Regions from separate parts of the Homo sapiens genome. Here region 2 is linked to region 1. Evidence: promoter capture Hi-C in 16 types of primary human blood cells and fetal thymus (Javierre and others, 2016). All regions are on one chromosome and are shown on one strand. Each heading gives the region's core, a stretch centred on a gene start or on the middle of the fragment in contact. The rest is flanking DNA. Distances are from core to core; before and after follow the strand shown. Region 1 holds the start of NKX2-3 (NK2 homeobox 3). Region 2 overlaps ENTPD7 (ectonucleoside triphosphate diphosphohydrolase 7).

Region 1 (4,708 bases), core at 944-3,443:
GCTGCTTGAACCTGCGTTCCAGCTCGAAGACCTGGGCTTGCGAGAAGAGGACCCGGGGCTTCCGGCGGCTGCGTGGCTTCGGCCTCTCGCTCTCCTCCGCCGCCTTGCAGTCTCCGGCCGTCTCTAGAGACTTCTTCAGCTGGCAGCTTTCTGCGGAAGAAGCAAACAACAGCGTCCTTAGCTGTTCCCGGCCGCACCGCGGCTCCTGTCCTGGAGCACCGTGACCCTTTTTGGTGGCTGCGCAGAGCGTGCGGTAGTAAATGGCTGGACTTTTGGGAACGTTTGTGGCTCCTGGCGCTGTGGGACCCTGAGACAGCCCCAGTACCCAAAGAACGCCCTTAGCAGGCGGAGGCGCGTTTCGTGGAGAGGGGTAGTTAGTGCGTGTTTATTTGGATCTTGAGCATCTGCGAGAGAAGAGATTACTCTGTATTAAATATGCGGCTCGACGTGCTAATGACTATTTTCAGGATGAAGGCTTGCAACTACATAATAACTACAGTATTTGCAAACTCGTTTGCATTCTACTCCACCAAGGATAACTGAAGGTGTGAGGCGTGTTGGTATGAGTGGGCCGGTGGGCATGGGTTGCGCGAAAATCTGTTCTGAGTGTAACGCTTGTGCATGGCTCAGGGACTTGTGTGTGTGTGTGGCTTATAAAAGACTACAAGCGAATGTTATGACGACATCTGTGTGCACTTTGAAAATGAAGTTTGATTGACTAGTTATAGACAGTTTCATGCCGATTTTCGGCTCTGGGAACTATGAGAGCATAGGCCTTGGCCTCTGCCACATCAAACCGCCTCTTGGGGAAAGACTGTGATTCTGTCCTCTTAAATACACTTCCTTGGGGACTTTATTTGATTATCCCATCTCCCTATCAATTCACTTCCCATCCGATGTGAGCAGCCAAGATCTCGGACTCAAGTTCGGCGCGTTTTCTATTAGGCCCGCAGCCTGGGACACAAAGCAAAACGTTACGGATTTTCAAAAAAGGCTGGCGCCTTAGGGATGTGAGAGCTATGGTCGCGCGGAATAGACATTGTTCCCACGCACTTTCCGATCATCTCCTCTCTCTCTACCGAGTGCCACGGGTTCAAGGACGCTGAGCTCCAAGCAGAGAAGGGAGGAAACCGCCCAGCTGGCCTCCACCAAAGTTCCTGCCCCTGCGGGTGCGAGAGACACAGGCTGCTTGGGCTGTCTTTTCGGAGAAGAAGGGGTGGCTGCCCTGGGCTAAGAGAACTCATCTCACCCTAGAGGGAAAACGAAAAAGGTCCAGGCTCCTGCCCTTTTTGGGGGAAGAGCCTTTTGGGGCGGGGGGAAGAGCAAAAATACTGCCAGTTATGAGGACCCAGGCGCTGAGCCCACGTCGCCTCTCAGCATCAGGGCAGCAGTAACCACCTTCCCTTCCCTCATTTCCCCCTTTTGGGGGGAGTAGTTGTCAGGGTCACCTCGTCCTTGTCTCTCCACCCCGGCTCCCTTGCAGGTACCTGCGCTTTGTGGAGCTGTCGGTGACCAGGGCGGAGGCATGGCCCCAGCCAAAGGGTAAAGGGATGGGCAGCTGCGCTGGCAAGGTCTGTGGGCTGTTTGTGTGCGCTCTGCCATTGCTCCAGGTGTGCGGGTGCGTTTTCTTTCCCCCTCTACTCACTTTGGCTCCGGTCCCTCACGACCTCGGGCTCCTCTTCATGTTCCTTGGGCTCGCTGCACGAGTCTCGCAGGACCGTGTGGACATAGCCCTGGGGACACAGCCCTGAATCCCCGTGGCCGTCTGCTGCGGCTAGTGAGTTCAAATAGGACAATTTCTCGCCCTCGTCTTCCTCGTCCTCCTCCCCTCCGTCAGAAAATTGCGTCCCCTCAGCGGCGGCCAGCATGCAGGGCGCAGAGTGGAAGTGGTGCTCCAAGTCCGCCTGCAAGTGCGCACCATGGAAGTGCTGGTGCTGCTGCTCCAGATTCAAAATGTCTTTGACTGAGAAAGGGGTGGAGGTGACCGGGCTTGGTAACATCATCAGGGCCACTTAATTGTCCAGTCCAAATAATAAATCCCGGCGGGGGCGGGGAGGCAGCGCGGCGGCTCCAGCTCTCCTCCTGGACTCCGCCGCTGCTGCCGAGTCGGGCTTTTGACAGACGCGGTCCCACTCCAGTCTAAATCGCCTCCATTGGCCGGGACCTGGGGGTCTGGGTTTTGTTACAGCCACTGCAGGGACTGGGGCCCGGGCTCCTAAGCCTCTGTCCGGGAGATTTGCGTCACGTTGGGGGGGCGGGGCTGGCGCCCCAACCTCCCTCCCTATAGGTTCTGGCTCATGTGGGCCACGCCCCCTGCTCTCTGCGAGTGGGATGTTGCGGCTCTACCAGAAATAGACAAGGACTAGTATAGAGTCCTGAAGTCCGAGACGCTGCGGGCGAGGCTGCACAGATCCGGTTCCTGAACCATTGATTCCCGCGTGGCTGCACCTTCCCGACCTAGGCCAGTTCTGGGAGGCTTGCTGTCCACGAACCAACGCCAGGGAAGGATGCCCCAGGAGTGTGTTTTTTTCAGCTGCTGCGCGGGGCAGGAAAACTTCCTGGCGGGTAAATACTGGGCGCTGGATCCACGAGGAGATGCAGTGTTTTATCTATCTATGGGTGGGCGACATGTCCTTTTTCAACTTGTTGCCTTTGCTCAAGCTTTCTCTCCACTTGGAACATGTTTCTGACACTTAGCCTCCACGAGTGGAAACTGTTCTCCAAGGAAGAGCTCCTAGATCGTCTAGCCGGAAGTCCCCTCTTTCAGGCTCTGAACCTGCAGCTTGTGTTAGCAAAGGACATGCATGTCACTTATCACTTCCCACTTAATTCTATAGCTGTATGTGCCTGCCTGGTCGCCCCAGTTAGACTGTAAGCTCCATGAGGGCAGTGTCCCGGGGTTGCTTTTGCCCTTGTATCCCTGGCAGCAGCCGCACAGAGCAGTATGTGAAAGGAAGATAGAGTTATGACTAAACTTTGGTATTCGACAGCTCTTGCTTGGCCTAGTCAGTGTGTGATCTTCGGCGTTTCTAAGTCTGTTTTCTCGTCTATAAAACGAAGGCAGTAATACCTTTTTTGGTTGTTGCTAGGGTTGAATGAGGCAAAACATGCCAGAATCTTAGTGCACGGCCTCACGCGTGTTAAGCGCTCAGTACGTGTCAACGACTGCTTTTCTGTATGGGAGGTCAAGCAGTGTTTGTTGACTGCATTGGTGGTGCGTGGCTGGAGTGTGGCACATACTGAGAGCAGGATCTGTCCTCACAAGGGAGGTGACCCAGCCTTGGCAGCCTTCTTTTCCACCTATTGAAATCAGGAGCCTGAATGTAGGCCTTGCCTCTCCGACAGGCTTTTAAAATTTCTCTACCTACACGCCTTCTGGCACCTTCATGAGGCCCTGGTTGTTTTCTGGGGGAGTCTATACAGTCCCCCACAGATTCTGGAAACTCTGAGCTGGAAACTCTGGGACCATCTTCTCCCACAATAGGCATTTGCTCGCTACCAGGCCTAGCCCAGTGAGGAGCAGCGGGCGCTGCTTTGAGGGCCACAGAAAGACCCGTGTGCAGCGCTGGCCTTAAAAAAATAGGGAACGGTTCCAGCTCAACCGTGGCTGTCCTCATCCGGCCCCAGCCAATCCAAGCATTTTTTGGCGGTCAGGATGGCGGAGCTGAAAGAGACCCGTCTCACCTGGAAGGGGCAGGTGAAAGGTGCAGGGACGGTGGACATTGCCTCCGAGCGGCATAAGACACCGGCTGGGAGTGGGTACGAGGGTGGAGGGCTGCCACGCGGGTCCCGCAACGGCGACAGGAGTGGGTGCCCAAGGTTGAAGGGAGAAAGAACAGCCTGTCGGGAGGTGGGAGAGGCGGGGCTCTGCAGAAGGGAGCGGAACTGTTGTGGAGAGGCAGCCCCTGGGTCCGCCCGGGGAGCTGGGATGCCGCGCGGGCCACGTGCGCCCCGGAGTACTTAGGGTAGCGGCGGCCCGCAGGCAGTAGGGAGAGACCCTCTGTGGGCAGGGTCTTGTGCTGGAACCGCCATTCCTCAGCCACAGGGGCGCCCGGTGTCTTTCTGCTTTAAATCCTGAAACTATTGACGCCCCAGGCGGAGACCAGTGTCTACAAACCAGGCGGTGAGTCTGCAGAGGGAGGAATGTGCCTGGTTTTGCCGTGGATCCCGAGCGCTCGGGCACAAAAATTCCGAGGTGGGGGCAGAGGGGTGCACGGCACTGCGGGGTGGCGGACCTCGAGTGTGTGTGCATCACGGTGGCCGCCGAGCATAAAAGCAGGAAGCTGAGCTCCAGCGCCACTTCCCCACCCCACCTCCGGGGCAAAACTGTCTCAGGGGAAATGTTTCTGCTCTCTTCTAGTCCCCAGTTTTCTTCTCCTCGGTGATTTCATGATTCTGGAAAAAGAAAAGGAGAAAGGCTATCGAAACAATCTCTCTCTCCCCAGTTTCCAACCGAAGCCTGCATTTCTCCTTGTTACATTCCCTTGCTTCCCATCTCGCTTCGCTCCTAGGCCTTTCATAAATCTAGCCCAACAATCCAGGTCTTAAAACTGCGACCAGGACAAAGCGCCCCTCCAGCGCCTGATCGCCAATACACGCCCACAGACGCTCTGCAGCCGCCGGAGCCCACCAGGGCGCCTCTGTGAGCTCATGCAGGGGGCTGTCTCCTCCCCACCAGCCGGCCCACGGGTGCCCCTCTACCCCAAAT
Region 2 (4,708 bases), core at 1,407-3,906, 180 kb before region 1:
GATGGATTGAAGAATAAGGGGAATTTTAGGTTTATCAATTTTGTTCGAATTTCTTTCATTGTAAGCATATTTGCTTGTGAAATTAAAAATGTGTGTATTTTAAGTGCTCTGATAGGAGGATGTGGAGGTTTGTGTGTGGTTATCCACGCCTGGCCATTTTCAATGTGAACTTTGGGTTACTGCCTTTCCTATTGCCTTCTTTCCTTTGTGACAGGTGGGCTTGGGCATCAGCACGCTGCTGATGTATGTCCCAACTCCTCTGGCCGCCACTCACCAGTCAGGCTCCTTGGCTTTGCTCACTGGTGCTCTTTGGCTGATGAATGAACTCCGAAGAGTCCCAAAATGATTCTTAGAGGACCAGCCTCCTGGGACTGTGACTGCTTTTGAGAGCTCTTCAGAGATCATAAGAACTTGGGCTTTTCTACGAGATGACCTTGACATACCAAGTGGTTTCCAAATGGTCAACTTACTTAAAAATCTTTTCCTGTTTTGAGATAGTCACTGGATCAAGAATGCATTAAGTGTGGTTACCCTAAATGTTCCCTTTTAAATCTGCTTTTCATGTTGAAAATCAGTTTTAATGTAGAGAAAGAAATGTCTGCCATTTGCTGCTTAACAGGCTTTGTGTCAGGTTTTTCAGTGTTGGCAAGCTCTTGGTTCTACGTGGATGATTTCTACGTGGATGTTCTCCTGAGTCCTTAATTCTGCCTAAATAGAATTTCTTTATGATCTTAACTTCACTTCCATTAGGTGAAGATTGAAAGGATAGGATTGACATACCCAAAGTAGCCAGCTGGTCTTCAGCAAAAAAAAAAAAGCTAATGTCTTCTAATATCCTGATTTTCAGAAATGGGGAAATTGCAGATTTTGACAAGCTTAATGTGTATATGTAGCAAAATGGTTTTTAAGTACTTGGAAAAGGAGGTAATCGCCAAATAGTTCCATTTTTTTTTTTTTTTTTGAGACAGAGTTTCACTCTTGTTGCCCAGGCTGGAGTACAATGGCGTGATCTCAGCTCACTCTGCAACCTCCACTTCCCAGGTTCAAGCGATTCTCATGCCTCAGCCTCCCGAGTAGCTGGGACTACAGGCACAAGTCACCATGCCTGGCTAATTTTGTATTTTTAGTAGAGAAGGGGTTTCACCACATTGGCCGGGCTGGTCTTGAACTCCTGACCTCAGGTAATCCGCCCATCTCGGCTTCCCAAAGTGCTGAGATTACAGGCATGGGCCACCACGCCCAGCTAGTTCCTCTTTTGATAAGGCTGTTAACATTACAAGGTCAGAGAGAGGAATGGAATCGACAGTATAAATTGGTTCCTGAGAGGGTTTCCTAACAGCTTTGTAATAAGAAAAATATGGCCTTGATGGTGTAGTGCATGGACATCTACCCAGATAAACAAATTGTTGACTGCTGAATTAATGTGATTTTGGTCTCTATTGATATTTCATAGGGCCCTGTCTTATTCAACTTTACTTTTAAAATCAGTGATTTGGATGAAGGCATCAGAAACATCTGATTTGAGGATGGAGCAACCCAATATTGCTAATATAATAGATGACAGTGGCAACTGAAAACAGTCCCAGAATGACCCCATCGAGATGAAATTAAACAGATTAGAAATGTAACATACTCATTTAAATTAAATAAGTTGTATAAGTTTGGGCTGAAGAAACCTGGCCTTATATCATTTCATATAAAAAAGACGGGATTTTAGTTGTCCTCAGGTTCAATATGAACCAAGTAGTATTCATGTTGTTATTATATGATAACAGAAAAATTAGTGGTACTTCAGGTTTTATCAGTAGAAGTGTCACAGCCATAGTCAAAATACCCCTAACATACTGCATTTCACTCTGGGTACCAAATTTAAGCAAGATATTGATGGCCACTAAGTGTGTATCCAGAAGAAGAGATCAGAATGATGAGTCCAGAACCCCTGTCACACAGGGAATAGGTGAAGGAACTAGGGATATTTAACTGGAGCAGAGAACATCTGGAGAGAGAGCAAGATTCCTGTCCTTGAGAAGTTGAAGCCGTCTCATGCAGAAGAGGGAATGAGCTTCCATTATGCTGCAGAGCTGGCAGCAATGGATGAAAGTTGCAGGAAGTTAGTTTTAGTTCTGTAGAAGGCAAGAGTAGGGTAGACCAAATCAAATGCTCACTGGGGTCAGGCTGATGGAGACAGTAACACTGGCGAGCAGGTGCCCCAGCTCGGACTATACTGCTGAGTTCTGGTCTGTTGCTGCCACTCTACAGGTCCAGGGTTGTTAGATCTTCTGGGTTTTTGTTTTGCTTTTTGAAATAAGGAAAATAAGCTTATCTTAAGTTTATTTTTCCTTGGATATACCTAGATTCCATACAGTGACAATACAAATACAAAGGAAGAACATCTGGATTTCATCCTTGACCTCATTTACAAAGCAAAAAGAGATGCTGGATTCAGATATAAATGTTTAATTTTGCAGTGTTTAAGTCAGCAAATCTTCTGTTTTTTAAAAATAAGCCACATATCTAGATTTTTCTGTGAAAGCTCTCAATTAAGTGTTGGGAACTAATTTCAAGATTTTAAAAAATGTTATGCAGGCTTAACGTGTCTGAGAGCCATAAATGACCTAACGTTTCCCGTTAGTCTCTGAACTAGGTGATCTCAGTTCTCTTTCAACTCCAGTACTCTGTAAGTTTCTGTGACCTGTAGTGTACCATTCTCAGGTGGTGATATGGTTTGGATGTTTTGTCCCCTCCAAATCTCATGTTCAAAGTGTGACATTCAGTGTTAGAGGTGGGCCTAGTAGGAGGTATTTGGGTCATGGGGGCGGATCCCTTATGTATGACTTTGTGCCATCCCCATAGTAATGAGTGAGTTCTCACTCTGGTTGTTTATGCAAGAGCTGGTTGTTTAAAAGAGCCTGGAACTTCCTCCTCTCTCGCTTGCTCTCTCTCACCATGTGACACACTGGCTCCCCTTCACCTTCTGCCATGATTGTAAGCTTCGTGAGGCCCTCACCAGAAGCAGATGCCAGCGCCATGCTTCCTATACAGTTCTATGCAGAACAGTGAGCCAAATAAACCTCTTTTCTTTCTAAAAATTGTCAGTATTTCCTTATAGCAATGCAAGCCGACTAACACAGGTGATTCTTAGCAAAACAGTTTGTCAATTTTTCATAAATGCTGGACCCTGGCTGGGCTTATGCTATTGCCTAGAAGAGATTCCCAACTTCTCTCTTATTTGAATCTTAGAAAAATCCCAAAGCCCAAGCCTCATCTAAGACCAATTAAGTCACAATCCCTGGAGGAAGTAAAAGGCATATTTTTAAAGTTCCCCAGGTGATTCCAATGTGCAGACAAGTCTAGGGACCACTGGCTTAGGTCCTAATAGCCTAGTTACCTTAGAAAGTTCTGACTAGCTTATTCCCATTCCCTTCTAATTTCCACCCCACCTTATCATTTGATCTGCTATGTTGCTCCTATTAGTATGTTAGTAGGATATGGTCTCTTCTGGATAGAATCCTTCAAAGAAAGGGAACTGTAGTTCCTGAGGCAGGTTCCCACACCATCCTCTCCTGATCCTCAAACCCAGGTTGTCCTTAGTTAGTAACTGAGTCAGCAGAGGGCAGTATGACCCAACCCAAAGAACCATATATTAATGCTTCTACAGTTGCCTCCAAGGAAGTAGCAACTCATGAGTAAGTTAAGGTTTCAGATGTTTTACTTCATTTTTCTTTTATTACAGATGATGAGTACATTTGGAAAAACAACTGGTTGCATTTAGCTATATAACTGTATTATATCTATGAGCTTCTGGTGAATGATTATCTTAGGGTTTTTTTTGTATTTATGTTATTCCCAGCACTCCCAGACACATATCAAATATTGAATTAGTGAATGCATGAATGGAAAATGGATAATTACAGATTGATGTTCCAAATACCTTTTTCCAAAAAAACAAGTCATCACATACCTATAGGATTAAATAGATTTCCCTTAATATTTTCAAAGGTCTCTCTGCACTTACGTCCATTGTTTTTAAAACATGAAGGAAATTAAAACACATGGCTTTCTTAATCAGTCAACCTAGAATTTTTTGTCTGTAACTTAGACTGACAAATACTATCTATTGTAGCAGGGGTAATGACTAGCAACTCCCTAAAGCAATGTTGGTTGCAGAGATCAACACTGATAATCATGATTTTAGGATAACCAGTTTATCTACAGCTACCCTTGTGGTCCTGGGATGAATGGTGGGTTATATATCAGCATATGTAACACATATACCCATGTCCCTGCATAAGGGAGAATGCATCACCTCTCTAACATGCATCACACATTTTCCTCAACACTGACCTAAAATGTTTGTCAGTGAGAATTTTAAGAATTCAAAATTCAACAAAATTATTGTTTAATGTGAAGCAGTAGAAAAAACAGAGTCTTAACAACTCCCCAAAGCAATGTAATACAGGCAGCCTTTGGTTTTTTAAAGTGTAGATCATAATAAAAAGATGTCTTTCACTACACTCCGCAGAGGCCATTGATCAAGGTAGAAATAAAGGGGGAGTACATGGCATGTACTTCAGGACTTCAACTAAAGGGTAATTGTGGAATGAGAATTTCAAATACAACATAGTAACTGAAACACTAGAAACCAAAGTATGTGTCTGGGATCCCTGCTTGCAGAAAAACATTTATGAAGCTAGTAAGGGGCGTCTTC

Evidence for each region. Contacts are between HindIII fragments. The CHiCAGO score rates a contact against its expected background, and 5 or more counts as called.
Region 2: a contact is called between a fragment that was not itself captured here and the fragment with the promoter of NKX2-3 in region 1, in 2 of 17 cell types (megakaryocytes and naive B cells). The highest score is 6.8, in megakaryocytes.

Annotation. Positions count from the first base shown.
Region 1 is chr10:99,530,427-99,535,134 of GRCh38, reverse strand. NKX2-3 (NK2 homeobox 3) reads right to left here and starts at 2,193. Exons shown (of 2, transcript NM_145285.3): 1 at 1,646-2,193; 2 at 1-150. The coding sequence starts at 2,003. It overlaps LINC01475 (long intergenic non-protein coding RNA 1475), which reads left to right and starts at 3,958. Exons shown (of 5, transcript NR_120618.1): 1 at 3,958-4,123. RefSeq lists an enhancer at 1,972-2,863. The HindIII fragment of the contact is 5,996 bases long and covers 1-2,663 here.
Region 2 is chr10:99,710,225-99,714,932 of GRCh38, reverse strand. It overlaps ENTPD7 (ectonucleoside triphosphate diphosphohydrolase 7), which reads right to left. Exons shown (of 13, transcript NM_020354.5): 13 at 3,692-4,708. It overlaps COX15 (cytochrome c oxidase assembly factor COX15), which reads left to right. Exons shown (of 9, transcript NM_078470.6): 9 at 215-4,065. The coding sequence ends at 346. Among named protein-coding and RNA genes, the nearest start is that of COX15, 20 kb to the left of the region's middle. The HindIII fragment of the contact is 672 bases long and covers 2,321-2,992 here.